3 separate regions of the Homo sapiens genome follow, and all the other regions are linked to region 2. Evidence: promoter capture Hi-C in 16 types of primary human blood cells and fetal thymus (Javierre and others, 2016). All regions are on one chromosome and are shown on one strand. Each heading gives the region's core, a stretch centred on a gene start or on the middle of the fragment in contact. The rest is flanking DNA. Distances are from core to core; before and after follow the strand shown. Region 1 overlaps SH3RF3 (SH3 domain containing ring finger 3). Region 2 holds the start of EDAR (ectodysplasin A receptor). Region 3 has its middle 10 kb from the start of SH3RF3.

The links. The method cuts DNA at HindIII sites, captures the fragments that hold promoters and counts their contacts. A CHiCAGO score of 5 or more calls a contact.
Region 1: a contact is called between a fragment that was not itself captured here and the fragment with the promoter of EDAR in region 2, in 3 of 17 cell types (non-activated CD4 T cells, naive CD8 T cells and total CD4 T cells). The highest score is 8.1, in non-activated CD4 T cells.
Region 3: a fragment that was not itself captured here is called in contact with the fragment with the promoter of EDAR in region 2 in 2 of 17 cell types (naive CD8 T cells and non-activated CD4 T cells); the score reaches 5.4 in naive CD8 T cells.

Annotation. Positions count from the first base shown.
Region 1 is chr2:109,132,737-109,137,328 of GRCh38, reverse strand. All of the region lies in intron 1 of SH3RF3 (SH3 domain containing ring finger 3), which reads right to left. It also overlaps a transcript of RANBP2 not described here. Among named protein-coding and RNA genes, the nearest start is that of SH3RF3-AS1, 4.9 kb to the right of the region's middle. RefSeq lists an enhancer at 2,560-2,629. The HindIII fragment of the contact is 4,584 bases long and covers 1-4,112 here.
Region 2 is chr2:108,986,466-108,990,844 of GRCh38, reverse strand. It overlaps EDAR (ectodysplasin A receptor), which reads left to right and starts at 1,625. Exons shown (of 12, transcript NM_022336.4): 1 at 1,625-1,885. It also overlaps a transcript of RANBP2 not described here. RefSeq lists an enhancer at 2,651-3,152. The HindIII fragment of the contact is 677 bases long and covers 1,341-2,017 here.
Region 3 is chr2:109,116,414-109,121,050 of GRCh38, reverse strand. It overlaps a transcript of RANBP2 not described here. Among named protein-coding and RNA genes, the nearest start is that of SH3RF3, 10 kb to the left of the region's middle. The HindIII fragment of the contact is 3,629 bases long and covers 1,533-4,637 here.

The sequences.
Region 1 (4,592 bases), core at 571-3,070, 150 kb before region 2:
CTTCTTTCCCCACCACAAAGTCAGAAAGATTCAGAAAGAAGAAGTGCAAAGCCTTCATTTGGCAAATCTAGACTATGGAAGAATAAACAAAAAGAGGTGAGAACCCACTGCAAACTCACTAAGCCCCAAATCACACCAATACCACTTTCCTCATTAGAAATTCCTGCCAGATAAACAGAGAATAAAAAGATATAGACACATGTTTTCCTCTGCAGCATATCTGGTCACCTAACTAAATGGAAAAAAAATTACATTTCATTATAAATAGAGACCAATGCAATCGCTGTCCCTGGAGCCCCCAGTGTCCACTGTAGTGTATGGTACACAGCAGGTACTTAAATATCTGTGCAGTGAAGCCAGAGAGAGAAAAGCATCAGCATCCCATTCCTTGAACCAGGGTAAAGATGGCTCCCTGCGAACTCCCTGATTCTCTGGTGAGGTCTTGCTCTCAGAGAGCCCGGCTGCAGCACATTTACAGGTGCCCCGGTGCAAGCATGCTTCTAAATTCTCTCACACCTCCTCCTGATCCGAATTCCTGTGGTCAATCCTAATTCATTTAAACTCACATAAATTCATGTGAGCCTTATGCACACATTACATTAAGTGGAAATGCAAATACCATCATATCTTCGTTTGCATCAGTTAACAATGTAAACACGTGCTACCCAAGAGCGCAGTGACTCTTCTTGGGCCTCCTTCAGGTCTCCCAAAGGAGAGCTGCAGCTCTAAATGGCCTCCAAGGATGTGCAGAGCCATCAAGGGCCAGGAGAGCCTAAAGAAAGCAGAATACAAATCATGCTGCAACTTTATACACTTTTTCATTCCAACTTCACTCAATGGGAAAAGGGAGGCTCACATTATGGGGTGCCTGCATGATCTGTAAACCATTCACTGTTGCCAATACCTTCAGCTCGACACCCTGTTCTTTTAAAGTTAATTAAAATTCCAATAGGATACCCATCAAGCATGCATTTCACATTCATCAAATCTGAAGATCTCCCAAGCAAGGCAAATCTGATAAAAATTGACCTTGGCCTCTTCAAGTGGTGCTATCAAGAGCATTTCCCCCAGCAAATGCTTGCTGATGTGTGTGTTTTTTTTTAATGCACCTCAAAAAAGATCATGTTAACTGTAAAAGATAGAGATTAAATACAGATCAAACGGAAATGCACACTAGAAACAATTGCAAAACTGAGCCCCGAATCTGTCATGCTCCAGCAAGCAGGCAGGCTCTCAAAAGCCAGGAGGAAGAAACAATTGGATAGAATTCTGCTCAGCTCCATCACAGCAAGCAGCCTGATTCTAGGCAGCTGTAGACAAGCTATTGTGTCCTACGGATGACGGAGGTGGGCTCGTTTTCAGGATAGCCTGCCAACAGGCTGGATCAGCAACTGAGCAGGATTATTCTCCCCTGCTGTTTTTTTAAAGCAGATTATGGCTTAGACGTTTTTTCCCTTTTAATGAAGTTTGTAAGAATCATGAACACTGCCTCTGATAATAAAGATAAACTTGGAGCAAATTTAAAAAGGAAACCAACAGACTCAAGCAACTACTCCGCATAGATGCCCAGTAATGCTTGACGATCCAGTTTCCACAACATGGACTGACTGAATCTAGAGGCAAAGCATGATATCAGACTCACAACACACACACACCCCCCCATGCACATCCACATCCACACACGTACACGCACACACCCTTAACTTAGAATACTAAATACCACAAATCCACCAGCAGCAAAGCAGGCACTCTGAGGTGTGCCTCACGCGTGATAAGAGACTTGAAGATTTTCGTATTAGGAACAGGCACTGAAACGACAGCCAATCACGTGTGCCAGGCACTGCACATACGTTATCCTATTTATCTAAGAAGCAGATAGCATCCCTAATTCACTGATAACAAGTCTCAGGAAAGCTAGCCCATTTGCCCCGGGGCAGATGGTGAGGAAGTGTGGAAGCCAAGATTAAAACCACCTTCAGTGGGATTCCCACCACCCCTTCCCCTCCTTCCACGTGTCCTGGGGGAGGTGGCAGGCCACCGCCTCAGGAGAAAAGGCAGTCCTGTGTGTGGGCTTCAGACACCAGCCTGGGAGGCAACACTGTCCCCAGGGGTGTAACAAGAAACATGGGGTTGGGGCTGGGTCACCGTTTGCTCACCGACTTGGAGACTAAGTACAAGGGGAAGAAACCCTGCTGTCTCCACTACTGGGTGTTGTCATGGGACTGTGACACCTGAAGCCACGGCCTCTATTTGAGACCTACTGGGTAGGGATGAGAATGAAGCCAACAGAGGAGCAGAGCAGAAGGGCAGACCAAGTATGGATCAGTGAGGAGAGCACAGAGCTGCTGGGTTAGCCAGCTAGGCCACTCAGACTAATGTCCTGTTCATGTCACTTACATATTAATAGAGCTGCCTGTCACCTGCATCCAAAGCCACAACAGATTTGATGCTGTTTCCTGTGGGCCACACTGCTCTGTGCACTCTGTGGGTTTACAAGACAGCAGCCTTGCATAGAAGAGCATCTGCAGCCGTGAGGCACGGTGAATGGAAGGGGTGGCCACTGCTTATGTTTAGAATCGTGCTACCAACGAGCTGAGCCTGTGGTAGAGTAAGAGGACTCTTCTAACCAAGGCCAAAGTTAATCTTCCAAAAAACACCCTCATTAACTGTGTGCCGCTCAGCAAGGAAATTCTGGAGCCTTAATTTCCGTACCTGTGTAACTAGCAACCTCACCAAGTTGCAGTAAGGACCAGATGAGCCACACTTAAAACACCGCTCAACCCTTAGCCCTCAGCAGAGGCTTCATTCACACCTGGTCCCACTGGGTGCTCAATAAATAATAATTTAGATTATTCACTCGCTGGCTGCAAACTGCTGTTTCCACACTCAGGGGCCTTCTGAACAGGACTTTGCTGTAACTCAGCTGTCATATCAACCACTCGTTTGGTCTCTTGTGAGCTGTCTGGTTTTTGGTGAGGCCCCCAAGTGCCAGCCTTTTCCTCTGGAGTCCTTATTATATCCAAGACCGAACCACGACAACATCCCAACCATCCAGCCAAACTGGACAGAAGGGCGGAGGAACAGAATCCTAACTCAATCACTTCCTAGCTCTCTGACTTGCCCAAATATCAATCTCTCTGGGCCTCAAAATAATAATTATACCAGCCACTTGGCAGGATTATTGTGAACTTTCCATAAGGTGATATATGTCAAAGTGCCCAGCATGCAGCAGGCACTCAGTAAATGTTCAACAGAAAATCTCGGGTATATAAGCAGTTCAACTGTCGAGACCCAAAGAACATGGTAACTAGCTTCCAGATACCATAGACACCCTCTATCCTGGCCTCCACTAGCTGACCAGCTGGACTAACCAACATTCCACGTCCTCTGTAACACAGCCAAAGTCACCCACACCCACCAGAGACTACAGCCTGGCAAGGCTGGGCCAGCCACTCCTGCCTGGGGAAGCCTGTGCTTATCAGGGATCTGTTGTCCTTATTCCCAACTATGCTAATGCAAGTTGTACTCATAATGCTAAATATGCACCATAATTCAATAGTCTGTAACAGGGAAAGAAGTTTGAGTGCAAAAAAAAAAAAAAAAAAATTGTCCCTTGGGAAATCAAGATGACCATGTATGAAAGACTCAAACACTAACAAAATGGTCAAATCAGGTGTAAATGAGAACATCAAACATTAGTGGAGAGGTCCTATTTAAAATCTAAATGACGCTCTATTCAGAATCCTTTGAAAATCTTAGTCTTCACTCTATTTGAAAGAAACAAATAGAAAATCATAAAAGGTGACTGTGTTCAGCTAAAAAGACAATCTGGAACTCAAAGAAAGGTCCTCAGCTCTGTACTCAAAAAATGGTGGAAGAATCATACACGTGTATGCTTATAAAATAAAATATTTAACAAATATAATTTTATGATTCTCCAACTTAAATTATTTTCTCTATTAAGTCCCAGTCACATTGTCAAAGAGACACAGAAGAGATTTTCAAACGGATCCAATGTGAACATATACCACTGTACCTCAAGATACAAAATACAGATAAACTTATTAGGCTGTAATGCCGACTTTTATATCATCAAAGGCACTGCCTAAGCTTTCTAGAATTCTTTAATTTGTGACAATGTCCTTCCTTGTAACCCTCACAGAATTCTGGAGTGACACCGGTCAGTGCCCACGGGTACCTTCTGAGAGCTGGGCAGACAGCTTGCAACCACTCACTACCTCTACTGTCAGCTCCATCCAGAAAGCCCAAGCCAGTCTTGTTTACCTATAATAGTGCCTAGCCGAGTCTACATGAACTGCAGAAGATGTTCTGTATAGGCTCAAATATAAGTCAAGGATTTAAAAAATTTTCAAAACAAAATTGGAATTGTCTGATATTCAAGTCCTTATTAAATCACTTACATTAAAAAGCATGTTTTGAATTACTCAATGTGGAACCACAAAACTCTTTTAGCAAGACTCCCACTGCACTGAAACAATTTGATTGATGCTAGCTTGGGATGTTAAAGGGATTTTCTTGCAAAATAGTGAAAACAAAACAATAAACAAACAAGTTAGCCTGAGAAATTTAGC
Region 2 (4,379 bases), core at 376-2,875:
ATTTATCACAGACCCTCAGTCTGAACTCGGCATGAGCAGGGTAGACAACCAAACCTGAAAATTCAAGTTAAAATTCTTGTTTGGGAGCTTATATTATCTAGATTAATCATCCACAAGGATCAAGTCAGCTAAGTAACTCTGGTTCAGCTTAATCTCTGTGGAGGCAGAATTAGTCCTTTACAGTCTAGGTCCTTGCCCCAGCCCCATACATTTCTGTCTGCTTTTTTCTTTTCTTTTCTTTTCTGTTTTGAGACAGATTCTCGCTCTGTTGCCCAGGCTGGAGTGCAGTGGCACAATCTCGGCTCACTGCAACTTCCATCTCCTGGGTTCGAACAATTCTCCTGCTTTAGCCTCCACACATGCCACCACCGGCTAATTTTTGTATATTTTTTTTTTTTTTTTTTTTTGAGACGGAGTCTCGCTCTGTCACCCAGGCCGGACTGCGGACTGCAGTGGCGCAATCTCGGCTCACTGCAAGCTCCGCTTCCCGGGTTCACGCCATTCTCCTGCCTCAGCCTCCCGAGTAGCTGGGACTACAGGCGCCCGCCACCACGCCCGGCTAATTTTTTGTATTTTTAGTAGAGACGGGGTTTCACCTTGTTAGCCAGGATGGTCTCGATCTCCTGACCTCATGATCCACCCGCCTCGGCCTCCCAAAGTGCTGGGATTACAGGCGTGAGCCACCGCGCCCGGCCTAATTTTTGTATTTTTAGTAGGGACGGAGTTTCACCATGTTGGCCAGGCTGATCCCAAACTCCTGACCTCAAGTGATCTGCCCGCCTCAGCCTCCAAAGTGCTGGGGTTACAGGTGTGAGCCACGGAGCCCAGACTGTTTCTTTCTTAAGCTCTTACTTTCTCATGTGTGAGTTACCTTGTAGGTTTCCAAGGCAGAGGGGACAAGATGGAAAAGGAGAACACAGAAATCTAGCCTGGAGGAGCTGCTCTGTTCCTGTATTTATCTGTGTAGGTGTGAATGAGGGAGAAAATGACAAGAGAATGACATTATTTTAAGGCTGTTTTCCCCCCCCCAATCATTTACTTTTTGAGAAATAATTGCCCAATACTGAAAGGTATGTCCTTTCAAAATGTTGATGTTTCAAATGGCTTCCTAATTACCTAGTTATACGGGGGGTGTGTATGGTTATCTGAAGTTACATGGGTATACACTGGTGGTGTGAGGTGTCCAGAGAGAGGAAAGGAAGAGCAGTCCTGGTGGCTCAAACCCTGAGGGATGTGCGGGGGATGGGTGAGAATGTGAACAGACATGTTGGAAGCTGAATCCGTGCAGTGGCACCCATGCCTGTAGCCATCTCAGTGGGGGGTCCTTCTACGAACAAGCTTTGATTAATGATATTTTAATGCTAGTTTAGCTTTTTAGCACTCCCACGCCTAAAGGCTCTGATAGAAGCAAGGCCCCCACCCCTGCAAAAAAAAAAATCCATGATTTTTACGCATTCCAACAGATCTCTTAAGGGGCAGACGGCCGGAGAGCCAGGTGTGCCAGGGACCTATGGCAGCAGGGCTGAACGTGCCCGCTCCAGCCTCTCCAGTGCTGGGAGAGACCTCTAGATGGTGCAGGTGAGTTTGCAATGAGGGAAAGCCCCTCGGCAAGGACTGAGTTTCCAAACTTGCAGACAGGGCAGGGAGCGGTCAAGGAAGAGTTCCCGGGAAGCCCTTTAAACGGAAAGGAAGCGGGGCTAGTGTCAGAGAGGTGTGCCAGGTCCCAGGCAGCCCTGCTGGCCCCTAAGGACATAGAGTACCTGCTTCTGAGAGGGCTGCCACGGTGGCCACCTGTGAAGCCTGTCACCCAGAACTGGATGGTACCTGACTTTCTTCATAGACCCATCTTCTGCTGGGACTGAAGCTGACCTCCAACAGAAGCCAGGTAAGCCCTGGTCCTTTCCTCTGGTTTTCTAAACTCTTCAGCTGTGGCCGAGACGGAGGTGTCATGGGCTGGGAGAGAGGCTGGGTGCATTTTTGAAATGCATGTCATTTTTGGGTTGCGTTTGAACAAGCTTTACCGATTGCAGTATGTCTGCGCTACCAGTTCTAAGACCTGAGATTGTTCCTTTGTTTTAGAAAAACATCAGAAACCCTGTTTTGCTGTTGGTTGCACATTTGGTTAGGGAGACAAATTCTGTGTGTGCTTCACAGGCTTTAAGATTTGGGCTACTGAAGCAACGGGTTCCTCCAGGGAGCGTGAAAAGTATGTTTCTCAGGTTTGCCCCTGTGCCCGGCTCACTGGGGAAGGCAGGCGCGGCAGGGACTCTAGCTGGGCTCTGTACCTGCCTCCAACTCTGCGTACCCGCTGTGACCTAAGAGACCTTCCAAGTGGGGTTTCCAGTCGTGTCTGAGACCCCCCATATCCTGGCCTCTGTGTTGGTGGCGGGGGAGCGGGGAGAGGGAGAGAAGGAGGGGAGTGGGTACCTATTTGTGATGATTGAGGTTTTCATTTCCAGCCAAGAGGTTCCTCTCAACACTCTGACAGACCGTGGGGTGGGTTGGGCTCCTAGACAGGAGTCGGCTCTGATTCAGTCGGCTCTGATTCCCAGCCTCCTGCAGCAGCCAAGCTTTGAGATGTCAGCTCAGGGAGAAGCGGGTGGCTGGGCAGGGAGGTCAGCAGGCGAGGTTCCCACTGGGTTTCCCTGCCCATGTTGTGCTGGGTCAGCAACAAGAGGGACAGTTAAAATCAACAAGCAGGGCAGATGCCGGTCAGTGGGCAATCCCACACAGCCAGGGGTACACGCATGTGAGGAGACGTACGGAGAGACAGGAGCACCACCGTCCTCTTCCCCAGTCCCCAGGCCACTGCTCTGTGGCTCTCAAGTGGCATTTTTGAGACACTTTCTAAGCAAGAGTGAAAGTGTAACAAAGAAGTGAAGAGCCATAATAGACTGAAGGAAAAAAGGGATCCAGGCATCTAAAATAGAGAATGTTTCTTGCCTGGCTTAATACTCTGAGATTTGTAAGTCATAGCCACTTAAAACCTTTAAAGATACATTTTGACAGAGGCCACCAAAAAGAGAGTGACTCTGGTCAAGGCTTGGAAATAAGCGTTCGTTCCGATGACAGTCCACGTGTACCCTTCACGGCTGGGAAAGTTTGGCGATCCTGGTGGCGATTGGCCGGGGGTCTCCACTGTACCCCTCCCCATCCCTAAGTGGGCCAGGCTGTGCTGTGGGAGGATTAATTTGTGACAGCACAGTTGGAGGATAATCTTGGAAGGACCAGTCTTTGGGAGGAAAAAGTAAATACACTTTCCCTGAAATGCTTGATTTTCACTCCCTGGCCACTACCTGGTTTCTTGCTTTTGTGAGCTGGACTTTCATTTTGTTGGGCATACACATTTGTGAAGCACAGACATGTCAGGGGCTCATCTTTGTTTCTCAGGCATCATGGTACCCTCTTGCCTAGCCCAGTGCCTGCCATTGGGCGGCAGCCCAACATTGCTCCGGAGTGCAGACAGACCTGGTCTTACCCCATCTCACGGAGCGCAAAACCTACTTGCCTCTGTTAAATGGGGAGCCTCTTCTAGTCAAAGTTCCTCAGGTCTCATAGGCCCACAGATGGAAGCTGGGTTACCTGACGCTCCTTTCTGGGTCCAAGTGAGTGCGTTTTGTGGTTTCCAAAGAATAGAATTTATTCTCAAGGAAATGCCCAGGAACCCAGCTTCAAAGACTCAAGCAAATCTGAAATTCAAATACAGGAGCTGTAAACAGGATGGTGTTTGGCAGACAGCCTTGCTGCTTAAGTGGCTCAGCCCCTCAGCTGGGCTCAGTTTCCCCTCACCCTCCTCCTAGCCTGCCTAGTGACTGCCTGCATGCCTCAATTATCCTGGATGACACCTGCCTGCTCGTTCCTTTGATGCTGTTTGAGGCTCTGCCTAGGTATTCCACCCACCAATAGTATCATTAATTAACTTACATTAAGCCCACTTAGCACATTAGATCAATTAGGGGACAAAAGCCCCAGCCAGCCTTTCCTGTGAGTATGCCGCCTCCATCTCAATGCCTACGATTCTGTCCTTACTGAATTCGTATATTGCAGGAAGGAATTTTTTTTAAGTCCCAAAGATTACTATTTTCCTAAAAAATAAAGCAAGGAAACATAAGCTGATGTCTAATCATTTAACCTCTGCTGTACATTTCTATGGCACTTTACAAAGCGTTGTCATGAATGTCTTCTCTATTTTCCCAATAAGGAAATTGAGGCTCAGAGAGGTTCACTGTCTTGCCCGAAGTCCCACAGCTCATAATGATTATGGGAACACCAAGAACTGGTCTAGGTTAGCACTCAGTATGCCCAGGCCTCGTGTGGAGCCTGTCACTCATAATTGGAGGGGCTGAGACTAGAACCTGTGTCCTCTGCCTCCAACACTG
Region 3 (4,637 bases), core at 2,098-4,597, 130 kb before region 2:
ATGGTCTCGATCTCCTGACCTTGTGATCCGCCCACCTCGGCCTCCCAAAGTGCTAGGATTACAGGCGTGAGCCACCGCGCCCAGCCAGAACTTCACTTCTTAACCTGCAACAGCTGCACTGCATGAGTTGCCACCCTCTTTACTGTGTAGACAAAGCTGCCAGTTACCTGGTGCAGGGCTTCTCTGTACCAGGAAGAAGTACTTGAGTGTTTCCCTTGGCTTTGGACATGTGAGGGAAGTAGGTATCCGCTGCCTGGGGAAAGTCAACAGGACCCCTCCTCCCCGTACCTCTTGGTATACAAAGCTGAGCGGTGGTGAGTCAGTTTCCACAGCCTCCTCAACCCTTCACCTAGAGGCTGCTTTTTTTTTTTTTTTTTTTTTTTGAGACGGAGTTTCGCTCTTTTTGCCCAGGCTGGAGTGCAATGGCGCGATCTCGGCTCACCACATGGAGGCCTTTTTGATGGACGTGAACTGGAAGGAAAGGTCACCTAGAGCACAAGGTGCCCACTCATCCAAGAAGAAGTGCAGGTTGGTCTGATACCCTGGGGGTGGAGGGCGGTCATGGGAAGGCCAACCTGGCTGAGCACTTGGCTGAGGCTGGAAGTCCGTCTCTACCTTACATCCTTGGGGACCACAGCTGAGTATGCGAGGCTAATGTGGCATATTCACCTGTGAGGAAGCCCTTGGGGTCCAGGTGGCCTGAGGGGAGGGGTTGACCCCTGGAAGAGTCCCTGGTCATCCACCAAAGCCCTGGTTGTTAAACAGAGTGAATCCAGGCCCCTGGCAGGGTAAGCCAGGCCAGCTGGGCCTATACTGGGAGGCCCTCCCCCTCCTCTTACAAATGAGTTGGGCCAGGTGACTCCACCCTACAGGTAGCCTGCAGTGAGCAGGGATGCCATGAGGAACCCAGTGGGTAGTCACATCCTGAAGTTCCCACTCTGCATGGCCTTGGAGCCAGCCCCTTCAGGCTGCATAGTTCTTGGACAATTCAGAGGGAGGACCCAAGACAAATATCTGGACTTCTCTTAATCTGATCAGGTGAAGGCCTGAATGATTACTTGGAACATTAAGAACATTTTGAATATGAATTTGTTTAAATTCATGGGATACATCATTCAATTACATTTCTTTTGGTCCATAAAAATCTTCATAAACAATGGCAATTTTTTCAACTTAAAGCAATGTACATTTTACTCTGATGAGGTATCTCCTTGTTACCAACTGCAGTTTCCATAGCACTGTGACGAAAATATTTCAAAATCTTTTTCAGTATTAAAAATAATCCTGCAGTTGTCTCTGTTTTCTTTTGCAGTCTTCAAAAGAATTATAATAAATTTTCTTCTCCAATTTGGAGACATAATATACTTTATTTTAATTTGGCTTAAGATCTTAGAAAATACTTAAACTTGTATGCATGGTACAGTTATTAAGCTATAGCACTGCATTGATAATACATTTAATGCAGTAAAGAAAATCCCTTATTTAAATTACAGTCATGAGCGAATGAATGAAAATTGAATATAAAAAAAGCTTCCAGCATAATCACAGCATAATTGACATTGAATAATATTTAATATCTGAATTCTTGTCTTGGCAGAAGTATATCCTAAATCATCCAAGGGGAGATTGTCAATTATAAATAATACTCATGTGTATTTTAGAAAAATGTGAAATCCTTTATGAAAGATATAGAGCTAAAGTAGAATAACCAACCTCGGGGGAAGAGCAATGGGACTGTTTCACGGACAGGATGATGGTGGTCCCTTCCTTGTGAGAGAGATATGGATTGTGAATGTGCCAAGAGTTGTGTCCATTCTGCTCTGTAGTTAAATACATAGACCTTTCTAGAATAAAATGCATATTGAACATTTCAGTGGCCATTCTGTCCAGGAACTCCATGCCTGACAAAGTGTCTTAGCATTTCCCCAGAGCTCCTACCAAGCTCTCAGATATTTCTTGAAAAGCCAGGTCAGAGCCTCATTGCACCTAGGACGATGCCTTCCAAGAAAAGCCTGGTGGATGCTGCAAAGGCAAGTCCGTTATAGAATCGCAGAGTCAAATTTAAAACTTCCCTCATTCAACCATCCTGGTTTCACACCACCACCCCTGCAGCCAGGTGGTCACCACCTCTGCCTAGACATTGCCAGTGATGGAGAACTGCCAGCCTCACCCCCTCAAATGACAGTCTGGTTTATTATGGGATCCCACGACTTAGAAAGTCCTTCCACATACCAGGCATGTGTCCATCTTTCAGAAACTTTTATCTATTTTCCCTTCTCTAAGCAACTGGGAATGAAATCTGGTCCCTTGTCCACATGACTCTCCAAATATTTGAAATCATGACTTATTGAGGTATTGTGAGCCTCAGAGAGGGCACCAGTTGAGGTATTGCTCCTCACAAGAGGGCATTAGCTGCAGGGGTCTGCCCACAGACCCTGACCCAAAAAACAGATGAATAAAACGTACACTGACACGCAGATATTCTGTTTTGCCAGTCCAGCTGAGTGGCCGGCTGCGGTGGACAAACCTCTCTTGGTGTGTAGGCAGTCGGACACTCAGCAGGACTGGCAAAACAGTGTATCTGTGTGTCAGTGTACATTTCATTCATCCGTCGTTTGGGTCAGGGTCTGCAGGCAGACCCCCGCAGCTAATGCCCTCTTTTTGTTTGTTTGCTCTTTGCCAGAAAATCATCTGGTGGGCCTGGGATAGCTGTGTTGTCGTGCCTGTTCTTACACACCCAGAACAGGAGCAGCATTTATATGGCTTTGTCACAGGATGTCAGAGTGAAATGTTGCAGTTGTCTTTTGTGGAGTAAAGAACTACCCCAAAATGTGGTAGTTGAAAATGATGGTGCTGTTTATTTTGCTCATGCATCTGCCATTTGGGCAGGACTCAGTAGAAACAGCTTATCTCTCTTCCACTCAGCCCAAAGGCTGGATATGAGGGTCCGCAGAAGGCCTTTGTGCCTTGCAGTCAGTGCTGGCTGATCTTCACCAGACGCCATTATGTGGCCTTTCCATGTTAACTGAGCACCAGGGTGGCGCAACCCTGGAGAGTGAGCCAGGTCTCATTTTCACAATCTTGCCTCAGAGGGCAGGCAGTGGCACTTCTTCAGCATTCTGTTCCTCAAGGCAGTTACAAGAGCACACCCAGAGAAAGGATCAGAGAAATAGACTCCACTTTCTGATGAGTGTGGGCAAGGTTTTAGAAGAATACACAGGATCGAAAATATTACTGTAGCCTTGCTTTTTGAAAAATGCTGGGTGGAAGCAGCCAAGATGGCCGAATAGGAACAGCTCCCGTCTACAGCTCCCAACGTGAGCGACGCAGAAGACGGGTGATTTCTGCATTTCCATCTGAGGTACCGGGTTCATCTCACTAGGGAGTGCCAGACAGTGGGCGCAGGACAGTGCGTGCAGCGCACCGTGCGCGAGCTGAAGCAGGGCGAGGCATTGCCTCCCTCGGGAAGCGCAAGGGGTCAAGGAGTTCCCTTTCCTAGTCAAAGAAGGGGGTGACAAACGGCACCTGGAAAATTGGGTCACTCCCACCCTAATACTGCACTTTTCCGACGGGCTTAAAAAACGGCACACCAGGAGATTATATCCTGCACCTAGCTCGGAGGGTCCTACGCCCATGGAGTCTCGCTGATTGCTAGCACAGCTGTCTGAGATCAAACTGCAAGGCGGCAGTGAGGCTGCGGGAGGGGCACCCACCATTGCCCAGGCTTGCTTAGGTAAACCAAGCAGCCAGGAAGCTCCAACTGGGTGGAGCCCACCACAGCTCAAGGAGGCCTGCCTGCCTCTGTAGGCTCCACCTCTGGGGGCAGGGCACAAACAAACAAAAAGACAGCAGTAACCTCTGCAGACTTAAATGTCCCTGTCTGACAGCTTTGAAGAGAGCAGTGGTTCTCCCAGCATGCAGCTGGAGATCTGAGAACGGGCAGACTGCCTCTTCAAGTGGGTCCCTGACCCCTGATCCCTGAGCAGCCTAACTGGGAGGGACCCCCCAGTAGGGGCAGACTGACACCTCACACGGCCGGGTACTCCTCTGAGACAAAACTTCCAGACGAACAATCAGACAGCAGCATTCGAGGTTCATGAAAAGCTGCTGTTCTGCAGCCACCGCTGCTGTTACCCAGGCAAACAGGGTCTGGAGTGGACCTCTAGCAAACTCCAACAGACCTGCAGCTGAGGTTCCTGTCTGTTAAAAGGAAAACTAACAAACAGAAAAGACATCCACACCAAAAACCCATCTGTACATCACCATCATCAAAGACCAAAAGTAGATAAAACCACAAAGATGGGGAAAAAACAGAGCAGAAAAACTGGAAACTCTGAAAAGCAGAGCACCTCTCCTCCTCCAAAGGAACGCAGTTCCTCACCAGCAATGGAACAAAGCTGGACGGAGAATGACTTTGACGAGTTGAGAGAAGAAGGCTTCAGATGATCAAACTACTCTGAGCTACAGAAGGAAATTCAAACCAAAGGCAAAGAAGTTGAAAACTTTGAAAAAAATTTAGACAAATGTATAACTAGAATAACCAATACAGAGAAGTGCTTAAAGGAGCTGATGGAGCTGAAAGCCAAGGCTCTAGAACTACGTGAAGAATGCAGAAGCCTCAGGAGCCGATGTGATCA